2 separate regions of the Homo sapiens genome follow, and region 1 is linked to region 2. Evidence: promoter capture Hi-C in 16 types of primary human blood cells and fetal thymus (Javierre and others, 2016). All regions are on one chromosome and are shown on one strand. Each heading gives the region's core, a stretch centred on a gene start or on the middle of the fragment in contact. The rest is flanking DNA. Distances are from core to core; before and after follow the strand shown. Region 1 overlaps MYLK (myosin light chain kinase). Region 2 holds the start of ROPN1 (rhophilin associated tail protein 1).

Region 1 (3,963 bases), core at 266-2,765, 250 kb before region 2:
GAGTGTGAGAATTGTCAGAACACTGTGGTCTGAGTAACAGAGGGAGAGTTGTAATAGGGACAGGAACATGCATCCCTAACAAACATACAGAGAACCCCTGAGAACCGCCTGAAACAGGAGGAACAGAATGGAAAGACTCCTACTAGTTGAAGGGTCTAACCCTGAATTTTCAGGGTCCCTAGGGCTATGATATGGTTTGGCTGTGTCCCCACCCAAATCTCATCTTGAAATGTAGCTCCCATAATTCCCACGTGTTGTGGGAGGGACCCAGTGGGAGGTAACTGAATCATAGGGTGGGTTTTCTCATGCTATTCTCATGACAGTGAATAAGTCTCATGTGATCTGATGGTTTTATAAAGAGGAGTTCCCCTGCACATGCTCTCTTGCCTGCCGCCATATAAGGCATGACTTGGCTCCTCATTCACCTTCTGTCATGATTGTGAGGCCTCCCCAGCCATGTGGAACGGTGAGTCCATTAAACCTCTTTCCTTCATAAATTACCCAGTCTCGGGTATGTCTATTAGCAGCATGAGAACAGACTAATACAGGCTGGATCAGGGTCAGGGCAGACAGAAACCTCACCTTGAGCCAGGTGACCTGCGGTTGGGGCCGGCCAGTGATCTTGCAGGAGAATCGTCCCATCTGTCCTTCTTTGACCACAACTCGGCCCAGCTTGGTAGCAAACTTTGGTGGGCACTCCCCCCAGATGCTAGGACGGGTCTCCACTGCTGGAGCTGAAAATCTATCCCTGTAAGGAAATTGGCAGAGAATCCAGTCCCAGACAAGGCAGCAATTCAACCATCCTCTCTCCACCTCACTCAAAGGCACTAAGTTAAGGTCAGAAGCCATCAAAGTGTAGCCTTCCCAATTTTATGCCTCAGAAACTTTCTCATGCTCTCTCTAGAAAAATGTGTGGCACCAAAACCTATTTCCTCTACCTCTTGGGCATGCAGCTAGACTTCATTTACTAGCCTTCCTTGCAGTTAGGCATGCCTGAATTCCACTGAGCCCTGGCTGAAAGCCTGGGTTTTAGCCAGGAGACCATGAGCAGAAGAGCTGTATGCCACTTCCAGGGCCGACTCATAAGAACCTCCTGTGAGGCTCTGCAGTCTCTCGTCCACTCTGCTGGTGAGATGCAGAAGGCCCAGTGGGGGCTCAAGGGCCTAGGAGATGAAACTATAAAATGGAAGAAGCCTGGGCTCCTGGAAGATAATGTGGAAGGCTCTCCCCATGTTCCAGGATATCTGAACTGAACTTTCCCTGAGTAAGAAACAAACTTTCCCTGGGTTGAGCCACTGTGATTTGAGGCTTGTCTGTTACAGCAGCTACTGTTACCCGCCTCTTCTAGGCTTGCTTATTTCAATCTTCTGACTATTGCCTTGATTGTTAGAGTCCACTGCAGACTCTGGCCACCTCTCCCACTTCCTTACATTTAGCAGCTGGGCCAGTCAAAGGAGCCAATCACAGAGGCAGCCAGGTCAGGAGGTGCTGTGTAAATGACACATCTCATTGTACTAGGCTCCCGCCCTTTGGTTATTATAACCTAGGAGAGCCAAGACTTACTCCCCAGACCTATCCTGCTCAAGTCAGCAGGAAAGCAATCCAACCCTTACTCTGTCTTGAACATCCAGGACTTACCCTAAGGTTTTGGAAACAACAGGCTGACCAAGCTGCTTCGCAAAACTTCCTGCAAGAAAAAGAGTTGATGAGTCAGGTCTGAGCCACCAACTTGGAGCAATGAAAGTAAAAAGATTCAACAGCAGGGGTGGGTGGGATAGTGATGGTGATCATTAATCTTGACTGAGCATGGGCTGTGTCACTATGGATACTATGGTAGGTGTTTACATACATTATCATGTGAATTTCTTGCAATAATTTTATGAAGCTGATACTACATTATCCTATTTTTTAAACAGATGAGAGAAATAAGATTCAGAGAAGTTAAGTCATCCATACAAGGTCACAAAGTCAGTAACAGTGCAGAAATTCACCCAGGTCTGCCAGATTCTAAAACTCTCAACCACCCTGCTGAGTTGTTAGGGTAGTACGCTCTACCTTCCATTTTGGGGATTATTTGGGGGTGATTCAGGACCTCTCCAGAACATTTTCTCAGTTAAAGGGAGGGAGGGAAAGGCCCATGCCTATCTCTTACCACACCTACTCTTGACTGACACAATCAACACTCCATTCTTCCACTTAAGGCCTGGCAAGTAGCAGCAAGCTGAAAGAGAGCAGGACAGGTCACTGCAGATGAGCTACAGCGGAGCCAGCAGCTCCTGCAGAATCTGCAGTGCTGCCACACTGAACACTGCCAGTCCTGGGCAAGGTGCTGCTATGCTGGACACTGCCAGTCCTGGGCAAGGCGCTGCTATGCTGGACACTGCCAGTCCTGGGCAAGGCGCTGCTATGCTAGACACTGCCAGTCCTGGGCAAGGCGCTGCTATGCTGGGCACTGCCAGTCGGTCCTAGGTGAGATGATGAGGCCATAGTAGGCGCTATCCTACTGGGCGCTGCTGATCCTGGGTGAGCTGTTGCCGTGCTAGGCAGGAGGCCATTAAATAGCAAAGCCAGCAAGGCAGCTGGGGTTAGCTCCTTTCATCCAGCTCCTGCAGCTGGGAGGGACAATTCACAATGTCACCATGAAATAACTCTAAAGTAGTGGGAGTTTTATTTTGAGGGGTGGGGTGGGAGGAAGAGGTCTTTTTTGAGATGATGATCACCCTGAAAGTTGTTCTTCTTTTGCCGCAAGCTGGGGATGTTTATAAAACCCTATCCCAGGGAGGGTAGAGTCATCCTCTGATATCAGCAGACAGTTGCTGTGGGGAATTTGCAGGGAGTTTACTGCAAAAGAGTAAACTTCCTTAACTTTGACTCTGATCACATTTATATGACTGTGTAAGAACATAGGTGTGGAGGAGAAAAATCATGGCTATTTTCATCAGCCACACCCGGTTTAAGATTCCACCAGAACTTTAGTGAAAAGGGATTAATAACAAACACTGGCATCACATTTAAGCTGTGGCTCCATATAATTGGTGATTACGATACAGGCATTTCTGTTTAACATTACTTAGTGAGCTGTGTCTAGTTTTCATTCCTGAAAGTGTTTTGGTTTTTGTCATTCCATTCTCTATTCAAAAGTAAAAGAACTTCTAAATTGATAAAAGGAGAGACTTGTTTTGAAAGGACCCAACTGACAGTCAAGATGCTGGGCCCTCAGATGCTGCTGGAGGCAGAGCCAACTGTCCAGTCCTCCTGGAAATACTTGAGTGAGGAAAAATCATAAGCTTTAAAGATGCTCTGCTCTTGGGACAGCACCTCCGTTTCTGTGACTCCATTCAAAGGAAACGACGCTAAAGTTAGAAGAGAAAGTTTACACAGCTATTCACTTTTATCTTATTTGTAATAGTGAAAGTTAGAAGCAACATAAATGTCACTCAGTAGGAAGAAAATAAGTAGTCAGGTAAAATGTACAATTAGACATCTTATTCTGCCATTAAATTATGTTTAAGAATATCTGAAACGTGCAGGTACATGTTAGGATATTATCTCATTCGTTCCTCAGCACACTCCAAATGGGCTATGATCCTCTCCGCTCCACTGGGCTCCATCCCAGCCACAATCTTGTCAAACCCAATGGTTGACACTCTGTCTCCATCTCACTCAGATGCTCAGTAGTATCTGACACAAGGTCCCACTCCCCTTCAAAGCACTTTCTCTTCTAGACTTTCCTGCTTTTACCAGGTTATTCATCTTCTCTCAACCTCCTTCTCTGCTCAACCTTTGCATGCTGGGGCACCCTAGGGCTGAGTCCTGGGCCTCTCCCCAGCTCCATCTAATTTCTCCCAGGAGGTCTTAGTCCCATAGCTTTAAATATCATCTATATGCTAAAGACCCAACCCATATCCCCACTAGAACTTCTTATTCACTCATCAGATGTATCCGGAACAAATCCCAGCACAT
Region 2 (4,105 bases), core at 1,395-3,894:
TAGGACAGGGCACTGGAAGGACTGGAGGAGGAAGAGGTTTCTCTTAGGAATTTAGGTATGCTCTTCTTGCTAGGCTCCAGGAACTTGTAGTTTCTCCTATGCTGGGATCCTGTAGCACACAGCTTTTCTAGCATCTGTTTCATGCAGTGTGTGATCTTTTGAGTGCCCAACTGCTGGAGTACACAGTGGCTATCAGTGCTCCATGGCTAGCAGTGTCCCCTGGCACCTCTCTTGGGAAGCTCTATAGCAGAGTGCTGTCAGTGAGTTACCTTTTAGTGAATGGCTTCTCTGGTGTTTCAGAGAGTAAATTTTGCCTGCCTGGCACCTCAGCAATTTCTCTGCTCTCCAGTCAGCTGTGGCCATCCCCTATGCACCAAGCTCTGGGAAAGGTTTCTTCCTTGGGTGATCTATCTCAGGGGTAGTGGTTGCCCCTTATATCTGTGATTCCTGTATATTTTAGATCTCTCCTGACATATTAGCCAATCCTTCATTACTCCAATCCCATCATTAACAATTCTTTATATTGAACTTCTCTTGTTAAATTATATGCTCAAAAAATTACTATATGATTTATTTCTCTTTGTTGGACTCTGAAACACGTTGACTGACAGCTGTGTGGATGAGCTGAAGAGAGGATGGTGAAGCTTCAGGCAGGGAGCCAGGTTAGGAGAATATGGCAGCACTTTTGACAACTCCCAGGAGCTTCACTGCCTTGAAAAGTAGTTGCAATAGGGAGTGATATAAGAGACAAGTATTTAGGAGATAGGATCTACAGGATTTGGTAACTACTGAAGGAGGAGGAGGAGGAAGAAAAGAGGAGGTGGAGGAGGAGGAAGAAGAGAAGGTGGAGAAGGAGGAAGAGGTGAAGGACAGAAAAGTCTAGAGTGACTATCAGTTTTCAAGCTTGGATGACTGGGTGCACAGTGGTGGTACCCTTGTAGAAATAGAAAACACTAAAGGAGGGTCAGGTCAAATTATCCCCCCATGTTCCCATTTACTTTCAGGAGTTCCATGCACTTTTGAATCACAGAGTTGAAATCATAGACTCTCTGAGTTGAAGAGGCACCAAAGCCCAGCTTTCCTGCCTTTGGGCAATAAGGGTCATTTGTTCACATCAAAGAAGTGGGAGAAAGGTCCATTCTATCTTAACATTCCTCAATTCTAACATTTTGTAAAGTTATTTTCCATTTTTAAATCTCTTGATAGTGTAGGTCTTCTTCAATTATACATTCCAGAGCTTATCCATAACCCCAACTCTTTCAATTCAATGCATTTCCTCCTAAGTGAAACCTACATGCCTCTCAATGTAAAATGGAGGCCAACATATACCTGCCAAGTGCTGAAGAATGTAGGTCTTAAAATAGACTATAGCCTTGTTTCAGGGATCTCTCACTTGGTTTTATTGGTATGGGCTAAACAGGGCTTCCGTTTCATAAATGAAAGTCTCCAGTAACATGAATGAAAGGCTCCAGGGCAGAATCTCAGAGGGTTTCTATGAGTATCACTTGGAACCAAGCACAGGCAACTGCACATCCCTGTTTGGGTTTGGAATTGGAGATGGTGGGTTTGGGATGTGGTTACTCTTGTTTGGAATACATTCTCCTCCTCTTAACAGGTTGATTCTTCCTTTGGAGGTCTGCTTAACCTTCCCTGATTACCCTGTCAGTTCCATTGTACATACCCTTCCAGAGCATCACTTACCTATCCTTAGTGTGATTCTTTGAGTAACATGTGTCTCCCCCAGCAAACTCCACGGCAGGACTGGTCAGTTTTTGCTCACCACACCATCCCAGTGCCTAGCCCAGTGCCTGGAACTTAGTGTTCAATAGGTACTAGTAAAAATGAATGCGTGATAGCAGTCTATGAAGTGCTAGCTATAAAATGAACACGTGATAGGAGTCTATGAAGTGCTAGGTATAAAATAATGCGTGATAGGAGTCTATGAAGTGCTAGGTATAAAATAATATGTGATAGGAGTCTATGAAGTGCCAGGTATAAAATAATGCCTGACAGGAGTCTATGAAGTGCTAGGTATAAAATAATGTGTGATAGGAGTCTATGAAGTGCTAGGTATGCCCATGACATCCACATGACAATTCACCCAGAGGTATTTTTATATCCCTGTCGCTGATGAAAAAGCAGAGGTGTGGCTCCTCGGTGGAGGGCTCTGATTCCAAACTCTTGAGCCTCCCAACCACTGTCCTCCGGGTAAGAAACCGTATAATAGTATTCTGGGTACAAAATACGCACACAAATTGGCCAGAAAGCCATAATCCCCCACAGTCACATTCTCTTGAAGATCCCCTTGCCTTCCCCTTGCCCTGTGAACAAGGAGAGGCTCAGAATCCAGGGGGCGTCCGGCAGGGCTCCTCCCTCAGACCAGCGCAGCCCTCGGGGCGCTCAGAGCCCTGCCCTCCCTCCACTTCCCCTCGGGGTGGCTACCTCAGGCTCGCTCCCAAACCGGCTGTCTGGCTTCAGGCGACACCTGGCGCCTGGCCTCAGGCGAGAGGTGTGGGGAGAGACCGAGTGCCTCCCACCCTTCTTAAGAAGGAGAGCAGTAGAACCTCGGCGGGGAGGGCAGCAGCGGCCGGGGGTGACAGCAGCGGCGGGGCACGACCGCCGTTAGCGTTAGACGTTAGCGCTCCGCCTTCGCCTGGCAAACCCTGCGCGGGCTCCGCTGCCAGGTCACCAGGGGTAGCGCCGGGCGCGACGTCACAGAGCCGCCCCGCCTCTCCTGCAGCGGCGGGTTCCCAGGGTCCCGCTAGGGCGCTGCTAGGGGACGCTGAAAGCTGTTTTGGGCTTTGCTGGTGGTGGAAGGACCAGACGGCCTGGAGGGTTAAGGACTGGGCTGGGGACGTTAGGAAACCCGGGCTGGGGGCGTTGGGGGTGGGGCGGAATGTGTAGCCATTGACGGTGCGCTTTTGTAGGTGAGAGGGCAGAAGTGGAGCTTGATCTTTCGGCTTGTGGAAAGTGGACAGGTGAGAATTCCTCAGGAATCATAGTAACAACACTTCTTACAATGAGTTTTTGGTGCCAGGAATTGTTCTAAGTGCATTACACACATGAACTCATTTCATCCTTACTGTCACCCCATGAGGCAAGTACTATTGTTATCCCCATTTTTACAGATGAGGGAACTGAGCACAGAGAGGTTAAACTTGTCCAAGATGACAGTCAGCAAGTGACAGAGTCAGGATCTGAATCTGGGTTGCGTGGTCCCAGATTCCTCACTCTTGACCTTATAATGCTAAGAAAGGGGCATGGAGTGGATAGGAACAGAGCCTGAGATGCCTGGGGACAACAGGGAAAGATAGAAAATATTTATAGGGTAGAATGTGGTCACTGTGCCAGGGCACTTTTACAAACATGATGACATCAAAGTTTCACAGTAAACTCTGAAGGTAGGTATTACCTTCGCTTTGGAAATAAAAAACAGGCTCAAGGCTTCGAGTAATTTTGCCTGTGATCGAACAGCTGGCAGTAGGGCTCAGGGCCCAACTTTACTCCAGGTCTTCCGGTTTCAAGACTGTGTGTGTGTGTGTGTGTGTGTGTGTGTGTGTGTGTGTGTGTGTGTGTGTGTTTTGAGACAGGGTCTTGCTCTGTTGCCCAGGCTGGAGTGCAATGGGGTAATCATGACTCACTGCAGCCTCAATCTCCTAGGTCTAAGCAATCCTCCCACCTCAGCCTCCCAAGTAGCTGAGACTGCAGGTGCTTGCCACGATGACAGGCTAATTTTTATATTTTTATAAACGGGGTTTTGCCATGTTGCCCAGGCTGGTCTTGAATCCCTGGGCTCAAGTGATCCACCTGCCTTGGTCTCCCAAAGTATTGGGATTACAGGTTTGAGCTACCGCACCTGGTCTCAAGACTGTTCGTTTTAAGCACCCAAGGAGGCAAGAAAAGCCCCATCTTTCTCTGCTACATCCCGTGTCACTTCACACCTATTTTAAAGGGGCCCATTGCATCATCTAATCCTTCATTCCATTTATACAACAGTGTGTATTAGTCTAAATAGATTAGTTCACCCAGGCCCTTCAAAGCTTTCTCTGTTTGTGAGATGAAAGCCTTTGTCTCTCCCTAAAGCAATTTTAAGCATCAGTGAACA

Evidence for each region. The method cuts DNA at HindIII sites, captures the fragments that hold promoters and counts their contacts. A CHiCAGO score of 5 or more calls a contact.
Region 1: a fragment that was not itself captured here is called in contact with the fragment with the promoter of ROPN1 in region 2 in 2 of 17 cell types (endothelial precursors and M1 macrophages); the score reaches 7.4 in endothelial precursors.

The regions. Positions count from the first base shown.
Region 1 is chr3:123,738,315-123,742,277 of GRCh38, forward strand. It overlaps MYLK (myosin light chain kinase), which reads right to left. Exons shown (of 34, transcript NM_053025.4): 6 at 1,639-1,687; 7 at 583-748. Among named protein-coding and RNA genes, the nearest start is that of MYLK-AS2, 51 kb to the left of the region's middle. The HindIII fragment of the contact is 3,540 bases long and covers 1-3,285 here.
Region 2 is chr3:123,989,480-123,993,584 of GRCh38, forward strand. It overlaps ROPN1 (rhophilin associated tail protein 1), which reads right to left and starts at 2,645. Exons shown (of 6, transcript NM_001317774.2): 1 at 2,443-2,645. RefSeq lists an enhancer at 2,417-2,933. The HindIII fragment of the contact is 3,137 bases long and covers 902-4,038 here.